Linked DNA regions of Homo sapiens: regions 1 and 3 are each linked to region 2. The links are contacts of gene promoters, found by promoter capture Hi-C in blood cells and fetal thymus (Javierre and others, 2016). All regions are on one chromosome and are shown on one strand. The core of a region is centred on a gene start or on the middle of the fragment in contact, and the rest is flanking DNA. Distances in the headings are between cores, read along the strand shown.

Evidence for each region. The method cuts DNA at HindIII sites, captures the fragments that hold promoters and counts their contacts. A CHiCAGO score of 5 or more calls a contact.
Region 1: a fragment that was not itself captured here is called in contact with the fragment with the promoter of ITK in region 2 in 8 of 17 cell types (fetal thymus, activated CD4 T cells, total B cells and 5 more); the score reaches 8.1 in fetal thymus.
Region 3: a contact is called between a fragment that was not itself captured here and the fragment with the promoter of ITK in region 2, in 1 of 17 cell types (M0 macrophages). The highest score is 7.1, in M0 macrophages.

Annotation. Positions count from the first base shown.
Region 1 is chr5:157,745,497-157,748,707 of GRCh38, reverse strand. The region is part of intron 1 of LSM11 (LSM11, U7 small nuclear RNA associated); the gene reads right to left. Among named protein-coding and RNA genes, the nearest start is that of LSM11, 3.4 kb to the right of the region's middle. The HindIII fragment of the contact is 899 bases long and covers 1,472-2,370 here.
Region 2 is chr5:157,179,231-157,182,384 of GRCh38, reverse strand. It overlaps ITK (IL2 inducible T cell kinase), which reads right to left and starts at 1,545. Exons shown (of 17, transcript NM_005546.4): 1 at 1,270-1,545. The coding sequence starts at 1,407. The HindIII fragment of the contact is 39,229 bases long and covers 1-3,154 here.
Region 3 is chr5:157,717,190-157,720,147 of GRCh38, reverse strand. No RefSeq gene overlaps it. Among named protein-coding and RNA genes, the nearest start is that of THG1L, 13 kb to the left of the region's middle. The HindIII fragment of the contact is 2,199 bases long and covers 501-2,699 here.

The DNA.
Region 1 (3,211 bases), core at 672-3,171, 570 kb before region 2:
TCTTACAGTAACTCTTGTTTTCCTTAGAAAGAAATATTTAATAGGAATGTAGGAACAGAAGCCACGTCTGCGTCTCAGGTGGCGGCAAAACAAGATGGTGGATCCCCGTGCCATGACCCCCAGATGCAGGGCTTATATGCTACAGGGAAAGGGTGATTCAGAAGGGATGTGTAGGACAATTGAAGTAAGATAACGTCAAGGTTGTTCTCATGTAAGGACAGGAATTACAGTAAGTACATGCTCTTACACAAGAAACAACAGATAAATTGGAAATCTTAGAGGCCTTCCCAGAACTGGGTTTAATCAGAAGTCAACATGGTGGACTGGCATTCAAGATGGAGTTGCTTTAGCCTCCACAACTACCTATTCAAAGATTTAAGGACAAAACTGTATCTACATATATATCTCCAAATATACAAAGTTATTAGCTCATTAGGGCAAAGGCAGCTCCCCAGATTCCATAACCTATTAAGGGCCCAGAGAAATGAAACCACAAACTGTAACAGTCACCTTATGAGTCTGCAATGGAAAAATATTTTCTCTTTTCTCTGAAAATAGTTTTAGTTGCCATTCTATAGAAGGGTGCCATGACAGATTGAAAGTACAATGTTTGAATCAGTGACCCGGCAAAGGCACATCAGTGTCTTCCCTATTGTGATGCTATGTCAAACTGGCCTAAACACACACACACACACACACACACACACACACACAGCAGTGTGGTGCAGAAATCATCTGAGACTATTCCTTAGTTGCACTGGAGACAGCTGACTGGAAACAGCTGCAATGAGCTGAGAAAAGTGACAAGGCTGAATTTTAAGCTTGGCCTTTTCTGAAGCCTAAGTACCGCTGTTCTCGGTTTTATGTAAGTCATACTCATGCCCTTTTGGCAACCTCTGTGTAACAGAGATGCTGTTCAAATTTGAGAGTTCATTTTACTGCTGTACACAGGGCTCAGATGTTCTTGATTTTGCCTATTTTCTTGCTCTTTATTTGCAGGAAGTGAAGTCAAAGTTATCCAAAGAATATCACTTTATTAAAATGAAAACATCAAGACACCATATTGTGGGAAATTATTTCAGCAATCAAAGTAAACTACAACAACAGGACTCAAACAAATTTTCAATCATGGTATCACGTCAGAGGCCCAATAAATCAGGTTTGTTTTGAAATCCTTCTCAGCAGGATGTGTGCGAGTAAAAGGACTGTGTAGGCTCCCTGCAGGAAAACTGAATTTGGAACTGGAGACAAGCCATTCACCTAGACAATGGTCTAGGAGCCAAACCCTGCATGTCATATGCATTTTGGATTGACCACACACACTTGTTCACACCGGCACAGGCTGCACACCAACACACCTGTAGCTAAAACAAAGTAATGATAACACTTTTTCTTACAGCTTTATAATGTCAAGACGTGAGCTTGAACACACCAGTTCATTTCACAGTGACAGATATACCTAGAAAAAGCTTGCTTGAAGCACAATTATAAACCAGAACCACCGTGGGCTAGGTATGGTGCTGCGATACTAAGGAGAAATATAGACACTAGAATTATGTGGAAAAGAGGATAATGCTCTTTAGTCTTGTCTTACCATCTCTATAGGCATGTCAATATTAAAAAGGAGGAAAAGCAATTGCATTCCACTTGCAAGTACAGCTTGTGTGTGAGTTCTTTGTTGGTATCAGTGATGGCTTAGGCTTAATGATGACGAAAAACCTTTCCTCCTATGCTTTTTTTCTTCTTTAGTATTCCCAGTATTGCAACAGCCTCCTATACTTTTATTATTACTTTTTTTTGAGACCTCGTATCACCTCTGTAGAGGTCTCTATGATGTCCCTATGATCTCGGCTCACTGCAGCTTCCACTTACAGGGTTCAAGCGATTCTCGTGCCTCATCCTCCTGAACAGCTGGAACTAGAGGCAGATGCTGCCATGCCCAACTAATTTTTGTATTTTTAGTAGAGACAGGGTTTCACCACGTTGGCCAGGCTGGTCTTGAACTCCTGGCCTCAAGTGTTCTGCCCGCCTCGGCCTCCCAAAGTGCTGGGATTACAGGTGTGAGCCACTGTGCCTGGCTACTTTTAAAATTTTATTACTGCAAGGAAAAGAATACAACTGCTCCACAAGGGAATTCAAAGAGATTCTATGACAGAGATACAAAGTGAAATATTTTACAGTTAAAACACCATTACACTTAATTTTGCACTCCTTGTTTTTTCATAAACATTCCACACTGTCCTCTCTGTGAATTTGGATGGGTAACTTGGATCTGAATTGATGAAATACATCATTTTAAAGTCAGCGACAAAATGTAGCTCCTCATGTATTCTTCATTATGTTTCACTGATGATATGACCTAACAAAGCTTCTTCTTGCTGTTACAGCCTGATGGAACTTACATTTTATGTGAATATTTTGCAAAGGATTATGCATTCTCAAATGCATAGGCATTTTTTTCCAGAAAGCATTTGTATATGTCCACAAATAGTATTATCTTACTGGTATCTATATTTTGATTTTCCTGAGCAACTGTATCCAATCAGAGTTTAGAGTAGGCATATATTTTTTTAAATTAAAACTGTGGCATACATATAAAACATACCTAGTTCTTTTTTTTCCCCCCTTCCAACTTTTGTTTTTGGATCAGGAGGTACACGAAAGGTTTGTTGCAGGTGTAAATCGTGTGTCACTGGGGTTTGGTGCACAAATTATTTTGTCACCCAGGTAGTGATCACAGTACCCAATAGGTAGTTTTGTGATTCTCACCCTCCTCCCACCCTTCACCCTCAAGTAGGAACTCTTTCTTGAATGAATCCAATCCTCACCCATGTTTCTGTTGTTTTCTTGCTTTCTGAAGGTCATCAACTCTGTGCGACGTCAATGCCTTTCTCTCATGTACACTCAACTGTCTGCAGTGCCATGGTGAAAATTTTCAGTATGTAGGGCATATTCTCTGAGATCTTGATTCCAGGGATATATACTTAATCATAAGAAGTTGACAAAGCTGGTCTTCACACACTGTCATACCATTACAGTAAAGTGCTCTATAGGGAAAGCTAAAACCACCCACCACATAGCAATACACAGGAATATTCCTTTCCCTTGACAATCTTGGTAGCAAAGCAATAACTGGTAAAATAGAAATAAATGTTGCAATGAGACTTGGAGTGCATTTCAACTACCTAATGGTGGCAAATTGCATAGGCAA
Region 2 (3,154 bases), core at 296-2,795:
TGAGGCATCCATAGGCTCTATACCCAGCCTGACCTCCTCTGGAGCTCCATCTCATGAAGTGCTTTAAACCCTGGCACACCAAAGAATCCCAAACTCATGCCACCACCTACTAAGTCAGACTCCAACAAAGAACTGGAGCACTTTTGTTTCTAAGTGACCATCAGGCACCTAATATTATTTTCCCTTCAGTAAAATATAAGTGATAATCCTTGTCCTACCCCACTAATGATGTAAAAATAATATAACCATACAGTAAGAAATCAAACATGCTTTGAAAAATTGCAGCATAGGGCTAAACAAGAGCCACTGCATAAAGCAAAGAAGTTTTGAAGAAGAAAGGGATCTTGAAGGTTGTTATTTCCAGTTTTTTCATTTTATGAAGAAAGAACCTGAAACAGGAGGTAGACATTTGCCCAGACTGGATCACCTACTGAGAAGTAGAGTTTGGTCTCCTGACCCTTTGTCCAATGCTTTTTCTACCAAACTACATTATTAGGATTATTCCTGTTGCTTTTGTTATTAGTGATGTTAAGAAGCACAAGACTATTTTTAGATAAAGAGATAGACTGACCTAGCAAAGCAGCCATACTCCTTCTGGGTAAGAACCGCTGGTCTGCACTGCAGAAACTTTGTTCTTAATAACCCTGGTGTCCTAAGAAGTCTATCAAGAGATGAAGAGGTTTGCCATTGTGCCTTACAACTTTTAGATAATTAAATGCCTGGGAAATCTTATTTCAAGATCAGGCTAGCGACGAGTATTGAGACAAACAGAGTTATTCATGAAAACGTTAACACTGAACCCAAAACTTAACCATTCTAAACACCAGTTTCTTCCACTAAAAAATAAGAAAGCTGGGGTAGATCATCCCATTGAATGCTAGTGTTGTATTAATCTATGTTTCATTAAATTTAGTATGTTTCATTAAATTTAGTATGTTTCATAGAAAGTTCAAGTTTTATCGAATCATAATACTTGCTACCTAAAATGTTATTCATAATTTAAAAACCAAACATAACCTTGCAGGGGGAAAAAGCTGATGAATGTTAAATTTACAGTTTTTAGAACTGAAATCACCTAGCACCACCATTTCACCTCTTGACTGCTCTCTGCATTCTCCTCTGATTACTTTTACTGTACTTTTTATGTTGTTACAATAAGCATGTTTGTGTTTCCTGTGCTCTATTTTATGCTATGTATATATTTTTGCATTAGCCCAGTCCAAACATAAAATGCTATGCGAAAAAAGACAAATGAAACTGCTCACATACCCCATGACGATCTTCAAAGTATGCCAGGCTGGCTTTGGTTAACACAAAGAAGCGGACTTTAAAGTTCGAGGGAGAAGTTCTTCTCTTTTGTTGGGATTTCTTGATGAGCTGTTCTTCCAGGAGGATAAAGTTGTTCATGATCCAGTTCTTGAAAGGTGGTGCACCTTGGGCATCACCTCTTAGCACAACCAAAGGAAAGAGTTTTGGGGCAAAGAATGCAATGTGGAGGCAGTTGATCTTCAGAGAGCTGCTCAAGGGCAACTTGCCTTCAACGTTATCTTTCTATCAACGTTCAGCCAACATAGCTGAGCTTCTCCTCTGATGTCAAAGGCCGAAACCACATCCTTTCAAAATTCACAAAACGAGGAGGCATATGTAAAAAATACATACAGCCTTTGCTAATGGCTTGAAATGATATTTGAAAAACTGTAAACTCAAAATTGTGGTAAGGATTACAGTTTAATCTTTATAGTTCCTGGTTTAATCCATCCAGCAGTTAAATCATGTAGCACAAGGAGTAAGGACAATGTGTGGTTTTGCTTACCATGATATACTCAGCAACCATCACAGTACCTGACACATAAAACAGATGTTCAAGAAAAATTTGTTGAATGGATCATCACCAAATTGGGTTGGACAATTAAAAGAGGTAATGAGCACAAAACCCTCACACATTAAAGTGAAGAAATATGTTGCTGAAGTTTATTAGTTTTTAAGATTTAAATTAAAGCCCATAGAAATTTCTCAATGCTACATATAGATGACTGCCTTTCTGTCCTGACGTTTTGTGGAAGAGTGAAAAATAAGTGAATCCTTCAGAATGGCATAATAAACAAAGTATATGTGGGCTTTGAAAACAGACAAACTTGTGTTGGATTCCCAGCTCTGTCACTTACTATGCTGTTTCTCTTTGAGCAAGCCATGACTTCTCTGATCCTTAGCTTCCTTGTGAGGGTCCTTTGGAGGACTGAATCCCATACATCTTATGAATGGTAGGTGCTAGTCATACATGTCACCTTAGAGTTAGTACATAGTTGAAGTATAATGTGTGACAGTTACCTCTACTATGTTAATAATCAAGAGATTTTAGTGTAAGCAGATATTGCATGTAGTGGGTAGGGATAAATAATAAATGAAATAATAATTATTGCTGTATAGGAGTGAAATTCTCCAATGTTTATTTTTAAATGTAAATTACCAGACAACAGCCTAATTTTATTTCATATACTGGATGCCCCAGCATAATCAAGACACCCAGGAGGGTACGGTACTGGTATATTTTAAATTACCTCCCCCATTCTGAGATTCTTAAGACATATGTGTGGAAATACACTGCCCAAACAAGATAGTATTTTTTTTTTCTGAGTATGGGCTTGAGGTAGGGATTGCTACTATTCCCAAATAGCTACTCTCTCCTTCTTACTAGAGTAACAGAATCCCTGACAGTTATCTGGGCATCTGGCCAGCAAGAATAAAGACTACAAATTTTAGCCTCCCTTGTAGCTAGGTGTAGTTGTATGACTGTCTTCTGGTCAACTGAATGTAGCAGAAGTCGTGTGCACAACTTCTAGGAAATTTCCTTAGTGGGATCTGTCATCCCCTTTTCTTTCCCTTTTCCTCCTGCCTTGTGACTAGAATATTGAGGTAACAGTTGGAGCTGAAGCAGCTATCTAGTATCATGAGGTGGAAATTGAATGTTGAGGACAATGGAGTATAAGATAGAAAGAGCCTGGGACCCTGGTGACCATGGATCTTCCATGCCAGCCCTGGATTACATTTTTTAATATCTATTTTCTAAGTCTCAGTTATTTTGAGGTTTCTGTCACTACCAGCAAACCTAGATAATACAGTGCTATCTTCTCAAACTAGACTACAAACTCCTCTG
Region 3 (2,958 bases), core at 351-2,850, 540 kb before region 2:
CTTCTGAGGACCCTTAGATCCACCCCAGGAGGAGCCCTAGCTGCTGTTCCCCCATGTGACTCCCCTTTTCAGCAGAAAGTAGCCAGAAAGAACCATAACCCAAAACCCTCTAACAGCAGTTAGTGTGGCATCTCCATAGCGGGGAATGTTGTAGGAAGAGAGGTCCTTGGGAAGTTTTCTTTTTTTCTTTTTTTTTTGAGACAGAGTCTCACTCTGTTGCCCAGGCTGGAGTGCAGTGGCGCAATCTCGGCTCACTGCAAGCTCCGCCTCTCAGGTTCACCCCATTCTCCTGGCCCAGCCTCCTGAGTAGCTGGGACTACGGGTGCCCACCACCACACCCGGCTAATTTTTTTTTTTTTTTTTTGTATTTTTAGTAAAGACGGGGTTTCACTGTGTTAGCCAGGATGGTCTCTATCTCCTGACCTCGTGATCCTCCCGCCTCGGCTTCCCAAAGTGCTGGGATTACAGGCGTGAGCCACCGTGCCTGGCCAAGGGAAGCTTTTGTTTTTTAAAGCATCTCTGGAAAAGTTTCTCTTAAATCCCTGGCTCTTAGCAGCAGCCCACCAACCTTTGATATGCAAATACTGACCATTAGAAAGTGGGCCCACCCAAACATGGAGATTCCTGTGGCCTTCCTGCCCTTTCCCCACATGTTCCTGGCAACATGGCCACCTCCAAATATCCCCAGGAGTGTAGAACATCATGGCGCCCTACATTTGCATATTAAAAGGCTAGGGTGGGAGGGTCAGCTTTTTTACAGGCTACGTGAATGTCATGCCTAGTCAAACCAATCCCTTGAGCCCTGTGCAAATCAAACACCACCTCCAGCCTCTGCATATATACCTGGCTGGTGTCCCTGCCAGGTGGGGACCTCCTCTTTCAGCTTTGGAGCCCCCATCCCTGTGTCTCTGTATGGGGGAGCTTCTTTCTTCTGTCTTCTCCCTTCCTTCTTACCTATTAAACTCTCCGCTCCTTAAAAGCAAAAAAAAAAAAAAGAAAGAAAGAAAAAACAGGGTTTCCCCATGTTAACCAGGCCGGTCTCCAACTTGTGGGCTCAAGCTATCCGCATGCCAAAGCGCTGGGATTACAGGTGTGAGCCACTATGCCCGGCCCTGAATTCATGATTTTTAAAAATGTATTTTCCAGGCCCAGTGCGGCGGCTCATGCCTGTAACCTCAGCACTTTGGGAGGCCAAGGCGGGCAGATTGCTTGAGGCCAGGAAATTGAGACCATCCTGGCCAATGTGGTGAAACTCTGAGCTAAAAATACAAAAATTAGCCTGGCATAGTGGGGCATGCTTGTAAATCCCAGCTGCTCGGGAGACTGAGGCATGAGAATCGGTTGAACCAGGGAGGAGGAGCTTGCAGTGAGTTGAGATCTCACCACTGCACTCCAGCCTGGGCGACAGATCCAGATAATGTCTCAAAAAAATAAAGTGTATTTCCCAGCTCTGTCCATTGGGTGGAGATAAAATGACACTCCAGAAGCAGTAAGCATCCAGATCTTAACTTCAAATTACCATTCCCCATGAAAATGAAAATAAACTCCTTGAAGAAATGGCTGGCTCCACATTGTGGCAGAGGAAATTCTAGGCGAGCCTGGGACACTGTGTTGTCCCAGAAAGGAAGGAAATGCTCAGACTAATGAGTGTATCTCAAAAAAGATGAGCCAGCTTAAAGGGGTTCCCACTGGCCAAATATGCGATAATTTGGGCATTGATAAAAATAATAACTATAATTGATTGCAATTGTATTGCAATTGTATTGATAGTGCCTGTAATCTTAGCTACTTGGGAGGCTGAGGCAGGATAATCGTTTGAACCCAGGAGGCAGAGGTTGCAGTGAGCCAAGATAGCACCATTGCACTCCAGCCTGGGTGACAAGAGCAAAACTCCATCTTAAAAAAACAAAACAAAACAAAAACACACACGCCAAAAGAACATAATCAGACATATTCAGGATGCAGGGTATTATGTAAGATCACTGACTTGGCTTCTTCAAAAGTAAATTTTATCAAGAAGAACAATATCTTTGAACATGTGTCCTAGGAGAAAAAAGGAAAATGAAAAAGGAGGAGAAACAGGGAAGAAAGAAAAGGTAAGTGGAGGGCTGGGCATGGTGGCTCACGCCTGTAATCCTAGCACTTCGGGAGGCCAAGGCGGGTGGATCACTTGAGGCCAGGAGTTGGAAACAAGCCTGGCCTTGATGGGGAAACCCTGTCTCCACTGAAAATATAAAAATTAGCCAGCTTGGTGGCTCATATCTGTAATCCCAGCTATTCAGGAGGCTGAGGGAGGAGAATTGCTTGAACCTGGGAGGCAGAGTTTGCAGCAAGCCAAGATTGTGCCACTGCACTCCAGCCTGGCCAACAGAGCAACACTGTCTCAAAAAAAAAAAAAAAAAAAAAAAAATAGAAAAGGTAAGTGGGGACTGTTCCAGAATAAGAGATTTAAGAGACATAACAACCAAATACAATGCAAAACTCTTGACTGGATACTGGCCTAAAAACCATTAAAAACAGCTCTAAATTCACTGGGGAAATCTGCAATTACAAACAACCCTAGGTTTTAGTGGTTTGTAAAACAAAAGTTTATTTCCTGTTCAAGTCACTTGTACTGCCAGTTGACTATGGTTATATTCCTGATAGCTGTTTTGATCCCTGTGTCTTACCCCAAAACCCAGGAAATGATTAGAAAAGCTTCTACACCGCACAATGTGCATCTTGCTGCTCACAATATGTTTGCTGAAGCAATATGGCCAAGCGCTAAGATTATAGGGGAAGAGTGTGTCATCTTCCCATAGAGAAGAGGAAAGTGAATACTTTTGAGTAATAATATAATCTATTGCCACTCTTTATTAGTGGATACTAGGGAATTTTAAATTTTACAGGTATGATAATGTAGTGTGTAAAAGACTAATCTTAGGAGACACACTAAGAAGTATTTAGGGATGAGATAGT